2 separate regions of the Homo sapiens genome follow, and region 1 is linked to region 2. Evidence: promoter capture Hi-C in 16 types of primary human blood cells and fetal thymus (Javierre and others, 2016). All regions are on one chromosome and are shown on one strand. Each heading gives the region's core, a stretch centred on a gene start or on the middle of the fragment in contact. The rest is flanking DNA. Distances are from core to core; before and after follow the strand shown.

The links. The method cuts DNA at HindIII sites, captures the fragments that hold promoters and counts their contacts. A CHiCAGO score of 5 or more calls a contact.
Region 1: a contact is called between the fragment with the promoter of GNRHR here and a fragment that was not itself captured in region 2, in 7 of 17 cell types (M0 macrophages, neutrophils, erythroblasts and 4 more). The highest score is 8.9, in M0 macrophages.

The regions. Positions count from the first base shown.
Region 1 is chr4:67,749,815-67,756,230 of GRCh38, forward strand. It overlaps GNRHR (gonadotropin releasing hormone receptor), which reads right to left and starts at 4,574. Exons shown (of 3, transcript NM_000406.3): 1 at 4,000-4,574. The coding sequence starts at 4,521. The HindIII fragment of the contact is 5,914 bases long and covers 4,157-6,416 here.
Region 2 is chr4:68,162,494-68,168,736 of GRCh38, forward strand. No RefSeq gene overlaps it. Among named protein-coding and RNA genes, the nearest start is that of TMPRSS11F, 36 kb to the left of the region's middle. The HindIII fragment of the contact is 2,752 bases long and covers 3,430-6,181 here.

The DNA of each region.
Region 1 (6,416 bases), core at 3,324-5,823, 410 kb before region 2:
TTGTGACCAGGGAGTAGTTTACTAATCAGTCAGAATGCATGCTATAATTTTGAAAAATTTGAAATAATCCACTTTTATATAAGCATTTCTTTTTGCTGTTTCTTAAAGAACCAACAATTCCATACTCATATTTCTGTACTTTTTCTTTCCTGACTTCAAAACCTCTTTTATGAAGGTAAGAAGAAAGGATGGTCTTAGGAAGAAAGGAAAAGAAGAAAAATAAATATTAAATTAGTATTTAAAATTAAGGTGTAAAGTCTTAGATGATTTTATAAATTGTATGACTTATTCTTTACAATTACTCTTTTAAATGTAAGTAATTTGCTCAGAGTCACATAGCTGGTAGGCAGTATTACTGAGATTTGAGCCCAACTCCATTTGAATCTCACACTCATGCCACTTTTACTATCCCATTGGCTTTTGAACTTTGCTGCAAGGAGATAGGAAGTCTTTAGTAACTGTGACTGAGAGCTAGTGAATAACCAAGTGGAGGACTGGTCCTCCTTTCCCTCTATTTTAACCAGAGCAGCTCCACTTATATCTGTTTCATTCATTATGGCTTTTTGTACAGGATTTTTTGTACTGTATTTTATTTAAAAATTTTTAACAGACACATAATAATTGTACATATTTATGGGGTACATTGTGATATAGAATTTTTTAAAAAGAATTCTATTACTAGCATAAAGTTTGAAAGTTTCTATGCCACACTATGCTAAAACTTCTGAGAATGCACTGCCGAATTATCACAGAACATAGCTTCTGAGGTTAATAATGAGGAAAGTGGAAAATCTAGGAGGCCAATTTGAAATTTGGTCATTCTGAGCTGAGGCAAAATGTCATAAATTCCCAGATCCCCAGCCCTGAGTGGTGAAAACATGTTTGTTAAGTGTTTTTTTTTCAACTGAGGTATGAATTACTCAAATAATAGAAAATCGGTATGTGCACCAAAGGATGAAAATTAAAGTTACCCTTTTAATGTAAATTAGGCACAATAGGACGTGCCTTTGTCAATTACATTTTTTATAATTGACCACAGAGCATGGTGAAGCATGAGACACACTCATCATGCATCACAGTCTAGAAATAAAAAGCCCTCTTTCTCTCTCATGTTCCTCATCAAATATATGTAACATTAGTTATGGGATTGAAATTTCTTTTATTCAGAGAAATTGAAGAGAGCCATAATAAAAGGAAAGAATAAGACAACACGAGTCCAACAGAGCACGTGACACTGGGAATGCTAATGAATCCTTTTAAATCAGTGCTTTTTGAACTGCAGGATATGCTCAGCAATGAGTTGTAATCAACAGTAAAAAATAAAATGTAACAGAATAGAATATTTATTTCATCAAAATTTTTTCTCAGTTATATGTGTGAGAGAAAGAGACAGAGACACAAACAAGGTTTCAGTGTAGTGTGTATTTCTTACTTTGGATTATTGCAAAAGGATTTGAATGCCATTGTCTTCATAGGTTTAGACCTTAGCTCTCTTATATATGAAATAGGGATAATAACACAGCTCCTATTTACCTTATAGAGTTAACGTAAATATCAGCATTACTTATGTGAGGTTATTCAGGAAACTTCAGCAAAGTGCTTTAAAGTGTTGTTGAAAGTAAGGATGAGTCATGTGTTTTACAAAATAAAATAACACCATTTTCTGTGGCTCACATTCACATAAATCTCTCTAGTAATGTATTTGAGGTCAGACTATTACATGAAATTCCTAAACAATTCAAAGTTAAGTTCCTATTTTCTTTTTGCTACATCAAGTTAGATAAATATTTGGCATTATCTTTCTATTATTGCTGTTAATACTTAGATGAAAATAATTGGATTGATAAAGCAATATTTTATTTATAGCTTCTAGGAGACTTCTTCTAAGAAGAATCAAATCGTGAGTTTGCCCTTCAGTTATTATTGCAGATAGGATTATTTCTACTTTGGTTTGGATTTTAATCTACATCAGCACCTCAAATTACCAACTACTTTACACATAGTTGTAATTACACAGATCTTATATTGCCAACAGTCATGTCCTAAAGCAAATGATTTTACTTCTCATAGCCTGCCTTCCCTCTCCCTTCTACAAACAAACAGGCAGACAAACAAACACTCCCCTTCCCACCGGATCATTTCAATGGTTTTACTATTTTAATTCCTAGGCTAAAAAAATTGGAACTTTATTTCCCCCTGCTCTATTATTAACTCTCTCAATCCAATTTGTTGTCAGGTTTTGTATTTTATTTGAAATGTCTCTTTTACTATCTATTCTCTTTGATACCACCCTAGCCCCCTGATCACCTCATTGCCAGATGATTTTTAAAAAAGTCTTTGTTTTATTCCACTCCATTTGGGCCATTTGGGCCTACATAAATTTTCCCAAAGCCTTTTTTTTTTCTTTTTTGAGACAGGTTCTCATTCTGTCACCGAGATTGCAGTGCAGTTGCAGTGATGCATCATGGCTCTCTGCAACCTCTGCCTCCCAGGCTCAAGCGATTCTCCCACCTCAGCCTCCCAAGTAGCTGGGACCACAGGTGCGGGTCATCATGACCAGCATTTAAGCAATTTTTTTTTTAATAATTTGTTGATATGGGGCCTCCCTATATTGCCCAGTCTGGTCTCGAACTCCTGGGCTCAAGTGATCCTCCCACCACAACCTCCCTCCCAACCTCCCAGGTAACTTGGACCATAGGTGCAAAAGTGGAAAGAAAGAATGTGGAAAATTTTAAGAGCATAAGCCTTAGCTAAATCACCTCATTTCAGGTGATATATTTGCTAAACTTATTCTTATGTATTGCATCACTGTGAAATAAATCATATATTTTTCTTCAGAAAATGAAAACATTTTAGTTTTTCCCATTATTCTTATTATGAAACACACACATATTCAAAAGAAATATTAAAGTGAGAAATTGATGGGATAAAACAGTTATCCAGCTTTCTAGTGTCTTGTGCTATATAGTGAGTTCTGCATGGCAGTTTTTTTTTGTTGTTGTTGTTTTTTAACCATCTGGTCAGTAAAAAAAAGTCTAGATAAATTTCCATTTTCAGAGGCAAGTTTTGGAGGATCCTAGTTAATTCTGATTTATTTCTTGACACATCCTTGTATCCTGGGTTTATCATGTAGTACATTTAAATGCAAGAGAAAACTTGTTCATCTGCTATTAACATTCTTTGTTATTTTCAAGAATTTGTCCTTTTCTTCGGGGATCTGATTGTTAAAATGGCAGGTTCAGCAGGTCAGTTAACTAGGCTGCTTCTGGTGAAGGCAACCTGGAAAGATAATTGCCCTCTGTGGGGAGGGCCTGTGCCTACTCTGTCAGTCATATGGCTTTCTCAATAAGCTGCCTCCAGCAAAACTCAAGCTAACTTTAGGGAAATATTTGGATTTCCAAACATCCAAGATGTCTTACTTTTCTTCTATATTCAGTCCCACTTAGCTGCAAACTGCAGAGCAACATACTAACAAAGAATAATTCTCTCTAAGCTGCAGTGACAGAATTCTTAAAATTTCCACTGAAGAAACCCTAAATAAGAAACATTATAAATATTTTCTACCTAGGCAAATTTCATAATTCCTAAAAATTATCTCAACTAAACATTAAAGCCATGTCAACCAAAACAAAAAGAAAAACAGATAAAAGAATAGGATGGAGATAAGGTCAAGTTTGAGAATCGCATTTTTTTTGGGGAAGCATTTGCTACATAATAGAGATTATGTGAGCTACTTTATTTATTTATTCATCACAAAAGCAGTATTAAGTAAGCATTAACCCCCATGTTACATTTTATCGGTAAAGGAACTGAAACCAGAGAGGTTAAGAAGTTTGCCCAAGGTAACAGAACAGAGCCAGAATTAAACTTCACTCTCTGACTTCCAGAACCCAAGCTCTTAAAGGTAATACAGTACTTCCTTTGATAAGACCTTATATCAAATTTAGATAGGAAATCTATGATCACCATATCCAAATAAGTTTGTGTATAATGGCTTACCTGTGGTCCTGCAAAGACACTACTGAGGATCCAGGCCAGGCCAACCATGGACTGTCCGACTTTGCTGTTGCTTTTCAAAGCTAGGGGCCTCGTGATAGCCAGGGAGCGGTCCAGGCTGATCACCACCATCATGAAGGCTGGGGCATACATGGAGAAAAGCTTTAGATAACTGAGAACTTTGCAGAGTAACTCTCCAGCATACCATTGGACTGTAATGTTCCACATCCCATCCAGTGGCATGACAATCAGAGTCTCCAACAGGTTGGCTAAGGTCAGATGTTTTAAGAGCAGCTTCATTCTTGAGAGCTTTTTCCCTTTCTCTTTCTTCTGTGTCCACTTCTGAAGTTTCAACAAGAAAGAAGCATTAAAGGTCGCAGAGAGCAGAAAAAGGAAGAAAGTAACCGTCACTCGGATCTTTCCAGACAAGGTCAGAGTGGGGAGGTTGCCCTGCATCAGTGGGATGCTGTTGTTGATGGCTGAACAGTGATTTTGATTCTGTTCAGGAGAGGCACTGTTTGCCATATTTTCCCAGGACAGAGCTTCAAGCCTTGTGTCTCTGGTGCATCTGATATTTTATTGTAACCGAATCTAAAGTCCTGTTTTATTTCTGCCTTCTTTAGATGGAAACGTCACAGGTTTAGACGTATGTCAAATTTTGTCCCTGAGATACTTAATGTGAAAGATCAAGGTTAACTTGTTTTGTGTATTGGTAATCCAACAGAGTGCTAAAACAGAGCAGGCCAAATGCATTCTGAGGGCCACATGTAACTGTAGCACCTCAGCAGATGGTCTGGCTTTCACAACACTCTTCCTAAGTGAAGAAGGATAGTCACAGCCTAATTTTGAATTTAAAAGTCAGTCATGATATTATGATTTAAATAACTTTAAAAAATTTTTCTAAAAACTATTTAGTGTTAGTGTTCTGTCCAACATACAGATGTATAATGATAATGAAGAAAAATGAAAACAACTAGATCCAATTAAAATCCATTGTCTTAAGGAATTAACACATTTCTCAAAAACATTTCTTTGTTTTCCTTTTCAAACACACTGTTGAGCACTCGAACACTGGACAAATATATTCACTTAAAATTATTCTACAACAAATTAAAACTTTAAATTAGAATCAATCCAACTGACTGCATTCAAATTTATTAATCAATCTTACTGATCCAATCCATGCTTAAGTTAGAGTAAAACGGTTAATCAGTTTTTAAATTATTGCCTTGGTTTTTATAATTATCTAAATATTGTAGTTGCTGTTATTACACATTAATGCATAAGGAAACTAGTTATTGAAGAGAATACTGTGTAACTGCTGTAAGTGCATTTATATGTGTTTATGTTAGTATAATATGAATATGTTCTTTTATAGGTTATCTGATCATTTCAAATTGGGACCACTTAGGAACTTTTTCTGTGTTGTTTCTTTAACTTTCATGGTGAGTGCTGGATAGTTATTCATCAATACTGGTAAGACTTACATTGGAATTTATTAAATCACCAGCTTGATTTGTCTAATGCCAACAAGTTTGCTTCTGCAGCAGCCAAAGCAGGTACAATGTTAAGGATAAAAGTGGCTATTTTGACTTAGATGGTGCATTCTTATTGGTTCATTTATTATACTTGTTTATTCTGTCTTAAATATTTATTTATTTAATAAATAGTTACTAAATATTTACTATATACATTATCTTAGCCTTTGCTGGTGATAAAAAGTGAACACAACATCATCCAGCCCCTTTAAGGAGCTTGTTACCACAGAAGGTTAGATAAATGTTTTAGATATATCTTATGTATCTCCTCAGCTTCTCTGTGTACTGGCTGTCTCCTGAATCTTGAGCAGCTTAGACCAGTCCTGTACCTGAGCTCCTTTTTGACTGTCACTATATGTCCAGAATTACCAGCTTCTCTCACTACTTCCAGACTTGAAATATTTATATCCTCTATTTATATAGAGTATCAAGGAAAGAGATTTTCTCACACCTGAGATTTGTGACCATAAAATTTTTACCTACGTCAAAACTAAGTTCTGACTCATCTAGGAGAATTACAAAAAAAAAATTGTGCCTACTATATTAGCTATAATAAGTTCCTTATAAGCAATCAGTCTTGAATAAGATAATTTATTTTTCTGAAGAACTCAAAAGGCTTTGCATATACATCATGTCAGTTAATCTGATCAGGGCCATATGCCTGAAATGAACAAAACAGGATAACCATTGGAAAGACATACAAATATGAAAAGTGTTTGTAAGTGGACCAGCAACCAAAAAACAAAGGAAAGAACATTTATGTAAAAATCCAATTTTAGTGAAGTATATTTTGCTCTTTGTCTTCTATATCTAGGGGAAAAAGATTAGAGCATATCATTCATTATTTGTCCCTTTTCCTCCCATTCCTTCCCTTCCCCTTCC
Region 2 (6,243 bases), core at 3,556-6,055:
ATATTGAGGAGCCAGAGAACAAAGCCAGGGGCTGGGTACCAGAGCCCCAGAGTTAGAATATGCAGCCCAGGAGTGCTGAGTCGAGCACCTGGCACCCTAAAATCTTCCAGGAATCAAAGCCAGTCTATAGAACCCACCTTATACCATAATCAAAACCCCAAGGGCATAAAAGAAGATAAAAGCAAAAAGGAAATCAACTTCAAAGACTGATGGAACATCACCCCACACAGATGAGAAAGAACCAGCACAAGAATGCTAGCAACTCAAAAAGCCAGAGTATCCTCTTGTCTCCAAATGACTGCACTAGTTCCCCAGCAATTTTTCTTAACCAGGCTGAAATGGCTAAAATCTCAGACATATGACTCAGAATATGGATAGTAATGAAGATCATTAAGATTCAGGAGAAAATGAAAACCTAATCCAAGGAATCTGAGGAAACAGGACCTACTACAAGGCAACAGTAACCAAAACAGCAGGGTACTGGTACAAAAACAGACACATAGACCAATGGAACAGAATGCAGAGCCCTGAAATAAAGTGGCACACCTGCAACCATCTGATAATCACCAAAGTCAACAAAAACAAGCAATAAGGAAAAGACCTGCTATTCAATAAATGGTGCTGGGATAACTGGCTAGTCATATCCAGAAGATTGAAACTGGACCCTTTTCTTACACCATATACACAAATTTAGTTGAGACGGATTAAAGACTTAAATGTAAAACCTGAAACTATGAAAATCCTTGAAAGAAAACCTAGGAAATACCATTCTGGACATAGGCCCTGGCAAATATTTCATGACAAAGATGCCAAAAGCAACTGCAACAATAACAAAAATTGACAAATTGGACTTAATTAAACTAAAGAGTTTCTGCACAGCAAAAGAAGCTACCAATAGAGTAAACAGACAACCCACAGAATAGGGTAAAATATTTGCCATCTATGCATCTGAAAAAGGTCTTATATCCAGAATCATAAGGAACTTAAATTTACAAGCAACACCATTAAAAAGTGGGCAAAGTACATGAACACTTTTCAAAAGACATACACGTGACCAGCAGGCATATGAAAAAACACTCAACATCACTAATCATTAGAGAAATGCAAATCAAAACCACAATGGGATAACAGCTCATATCAATCAGAATGGCTTTCTTTAAAGTCAAAAAATAACAATGTTGGCAAGGTTGCAGAAAAAGGAAACATTTATACACTGCTAGTGGGAATGTAAGTTAGTTCAGTCATTGTGGAAAGCAGTTTTGTGATTTTTCAAAGAACTTAAAATTACCATTCAACCCCACAATCCCAGTATTGGGTATATACCCCAAAGAATATGAATCCTTCTACCAGAAAGAAACATTTACTTGCATGTTCATCACAGCACTATTCACAATAGCAAAGACATGAATTCAGTGTAGATGCCCATCAATGGTAGACTGGATACAGAAAATGTGGTACATATACACCATGGAATACTATACAGCTGTAAAAAAGAACTAGATCATGTCTTTTGCAGCAACATGGATGCAGCTGGAGGCCATTATCCTAAGCAAACTAACGCAGGTACAGAAAACCAAATACCATATGTTCTCACTTGTAAATGGGAGCTAAATATTGAGTACACATGGACACAAAGAAAGGAACAACAGACACTGGGGCCTACTTGAGGGTGCAGGGTGGGAGGAAGGGGAGGATCAAAAAAACTACCTATCAGGTAGTATGCTTATCATCTAGGTTAGGAAATAATCTGTACACCAAACCCCCACGACATGCACTTTACTTATATAAGAAACTTGCTGCCCAGTGCAGTGGCTCATACCTGTAATCCCAGCACTTTGGAAGGCCAAGGCGGATGGATCACAAGGTCAGGAGATCAAGACCATCCTGGCCAACATGGTGAAACCCTGTCTCTACTAAAAACACAAAAATTAGCCGGGCATGGTGGTGTGCACCTGTAGTCCCAGCTACTCAGGAGGCTGAGGCAGGGGGAATAGCTTAAATCTGGAAGGCAGAGGTTGCAGTGAGCCGAGATCATGCCATTGCACTCCAGCCTGGGTGACAGAGCGAGACTTCATCTCAAAAAAAAAAAAAAAAAAAGGAAAGAAACTTGCACGTGTATCCCTGAAACTAAAAGTTAAACAGTAAAATAAAATAATGGAATTGGAACACACACAACAACAACAAAATAAAATACATTTTGAAAAAGTAATCAAGCTTTCTGTAATCAATGTATTAGACTTGAAATCATCATACTCATCAGTACAAACTCAGCTTAATAGAGACACAGATTGTTACCATGGTCAAATCTGGAACAATTTGAACAATAAAATTAGTAAACTAGTATTGGATTTTAATCTAAAGTATAAAATAAGTATCCAAGAGTCCACAGTGGTATAAGTATATGATTAAATAAATAAATGAGAGAGAAGAGACAAATATCCCATGCAGAAAAATTCCAAATAATGTATGTAGATATTCCACCCTCAATGAGGTGGGTCATAACTCCCCACTCCTTACGTGTCATCTCTAAACAGTGATTTCCTTCCAAACAGTACAAATGGAAAGTGGGGAAATGTAACTTTACGGTGGAGAATCCTGAAAAACACTACCTAAGCTAGATGATCAAAGTAATATCAACAGAGATAAGTTATACTGACAGTATAAACCACCGACACAATATGATTAAAATGGCACTTTACCTCTGTGATCTTCTCCCAAAAACCCGTAACTCCAAATCTAATTATGGGACTAACATCAGAGAAATCCTAATTGAGGAGCGTTCTATAAAATACTTGACAAGTACTTCTCAAAACCGTTAAGATCATCAAAAGCAAAGAAAATCTGAGAAACTATTACAGCTAAAAGGATCCTAAGGAGACATGATGGCTAAATGTAATGTAGTATCCAAAATGGGATCCTGGCACAGAAAGGGGCCATTGGATAAAAACTAAGGAAATAGGAATTAAGTATGGGCTTTCATAATAATAATGTACCAATATCACTTCATTAATTGTAACAAATGTACCACACTTTAGATAGCAGCAACAGGGGAAACTGTGAAATATATAGAAACTTTCCCTACCATCTTAACTTTTTTGTAAATCTAAAACTGTTTTAAAATGAATAGTTCATCTTTATAAAAAGTAAAAAACAAACTGATCTTACCAAGAGCAACTGGCATTAATTTCAATTATATCAACTGAAGTTTAAAAAGTATAAATTTTGATAAACTAACAAATGAGTTTCCAGAAAAGCAGGAAAAAAATTTATGAGAAATCAAGATTACACATTATAAAGTATTATTTCTTTTATGACCTAAAATTAGAACACCAAAAATTGTATTTTTGTAATTTATTAGTTTATATTGTTACCCACATACCATTTTCATCCCTATTATGTTTTATAATATAATAGCTTTTTAAAATTAAAAGCTTAAGGAGCATTGCATTTTCATTTTTCACTACTACCTGAAAATTATTATTTAGCCCCCAGTCAGTTGCAGAGATGTATGCCTATAGTCCCAGCTTCTTGGGAGGCTGAGATGATACGATTCTTGAGCCCAGGAGTTGAAGTCTTGCCTGGGCAACATAAAAAGAACCTGTCCCTTTAATATAATAATAAATAGATAAATAAGATCATCAATGTTATACTTACCTCACCACCACATAGGAAACTGCTTAATAAATGCTACGTATTATTAGTGAGCTACAGTTAGTACCCAGTTACTGATTCTCAAGAATTATTCTTCATAGAATGTATTTAACACCTCAGTTCAATTTTCAACTACTTCATACAAAATCACTTTATACCTAACTGGTGTTACATAGCTGATGGAAGAGATCTGCATACATATTTGCATGTGAAATTAAATATCTGAGAAAAATGAGTGAAGAAGTAGGATTTAAGAGTAGTTTCTGATTTAAATTTGCTGATTTCCAATTATTGCACTGGACACTTTTTAATACATTTCCTTAATTTTTACAAATGCTGTGAAGTACGCACTTTATTCCCATTAAACTGGAGAGCAAACTGAGATCAGGGAGCTTGAATAAACTTCTCAGGTCACAGGATCACAACATGAGTAACAGGATTGAGATTGAAACCCAGTTTTTATTACTTCCAAGTAGTTTTCATTACCTCACAGTGCCTCTTATTTATCATAGTGCAGGCAGGTACTATTTACTAGCTTTGTCAAAATTTCCTTATTTTGGTGAATACTGTAAAATGGTTGGATATCTCTAAAGAACTTATTTTAAACAGGTCAGAATTAAGAATGACTCATTCTCATGCATCTTTTACAAGCTCAATTTCCAGAAATAGTTCTTCTTTACAACTACAATCTGTTATCATGATCTCACTCTTTCAGCTCTGTTGGGTTACTGGCTAAACCTAGTTTTGGAATTACTTGGATTCTAGATTGTAGTTTTCTCTAGAATCCTCCTGATGATACTTCAGAAGACTGTCCGGCATCTACCACATTAGGGTATACCATAGAAAAGGGCTTTCAGACTTTGTTGGAGCAAAGTTTGTTGATGCTTTCATGTTGGGGTCATGTTTTCATGGTACTACACCTGCTTGGCCAGCCAGTTCCATTGAGGTGCCTGTTCCCAGTCCCTCCGGGGGTTCTCAAACAAAATCTGACAGCATATTCCCTCACTCTTTACTCTGCATTTCTTGCTTCCCACGTGGAGTTTTTCCATCACCTCTGAGACACTGTGGAGGTGCACTGATTTGCCCAGTTGTGTTTGTGAGGTTGCAAATTATACATGGACAGTGGCAAGTGTCACTGACTTGCTTCCACTCACTAGCTTACTCCATGCAGTGTGGCTGCCACTGTGGATGTTGTCACTGCTGTTTTGTGATCTAGCCTCCTCATAGCTGCTAGAGGGCCAGGTGGTACAACCTAAAACTGTGTCACAGTCGATGTGTCATGGGAGGAATTTTTTTCCAATGGCAGATACAAGAAGGTGAATTCTTCTCCCTTCCTCTCCCTAGACAAATCATTCAGAAACACAGTGGCTCATATAGACTCTCCAAAGATATCCCACTAGCTTGATATAAAACTCTAGCCCAATTGGTAACGTACCCCTTACATTTGCTTTCCATCCTCATCCCTTCTTTCTCTATTGATCCCTTTCCCTCAGTCCTTCTTCCCTAGAATTGCATATCCCTAGAATTGCCTTGGGCTCTATTTTCTAAAAAAATCCACACTAAAAACAGTTTGCCATCCTATGATCACTACCATTATTCAATAGCTAATCAAACCATTTAGGGGTTTATTTACAGTTATTTGATTGAGAGACGAAAGAGGAACAGAAAAGAGAACCTTATTTACTAGGCTCCAAGAAGGTAGAGGAGGTTGCCCCACTTGGAGAACTGTGCCAAATTTCCTGACTCCAACTGCTATACTTCGTAGGTAACAGATGGCATAGTGGGTGGAAGGGAGTTACACATGCAACTATTCAAATCTCTAGCACTGAAAATATCTTGATTGCAAGAGGTGACGCTTAGGAAATTTTAGAGACAGACATGTCAGAAATAATTCTGATGTAGCAATAGCAGAATATATAAGCAGGTTATCCTATAGGTAATTGTTTGCTTGCACACTATTGAGATTTATATTGATGCATAGTATGCATTCTTCACCAAATATCCAGAGCAAACGTGCTAATGTATTGTGTTTAAAGAACTGCAGCCAGATTTGGGGAAAGAAAAGAACACAACAGGACCACTATTTCTACTCTCTCAAGGGAAGAGAATGAAGTGAAAACAACTCTATCTAATTTGGGGGCCATGAACATTTGCCCTACAATCAGTGGCAATCTAACCGATTTGGTTCTGCAGATGTCGGAATAAAGGGCAAGGAACCCAATAAACATGATAATGTAACATTGACAGTAAAAATAGAGATGTCCAGACAGAACACTGTACAGTGAATACTTTAGATCACACTAATGTCTTATCGAATGTTAAATATATCTTTTGTTGACCTAATTAACATATGAAACAGATTTTGTTTCGATTACACATTAAGTAATCTCATGACGTGTTCTTTTGTGGAGGTTGAGGTTGTATGAGTTCAACATGTGTTGGTAGTGGATGAGTGGGCATCCAAGTGGCAACATGCACTACCTAATTTAAAATAATACATTAGAGGTTTAACTTGATTGGGGTTACGGGAAGCTTTGACTAATGTCTTACCATTTGAGCAACGAAATGAATATTTATGTCTTGTACTTGTAT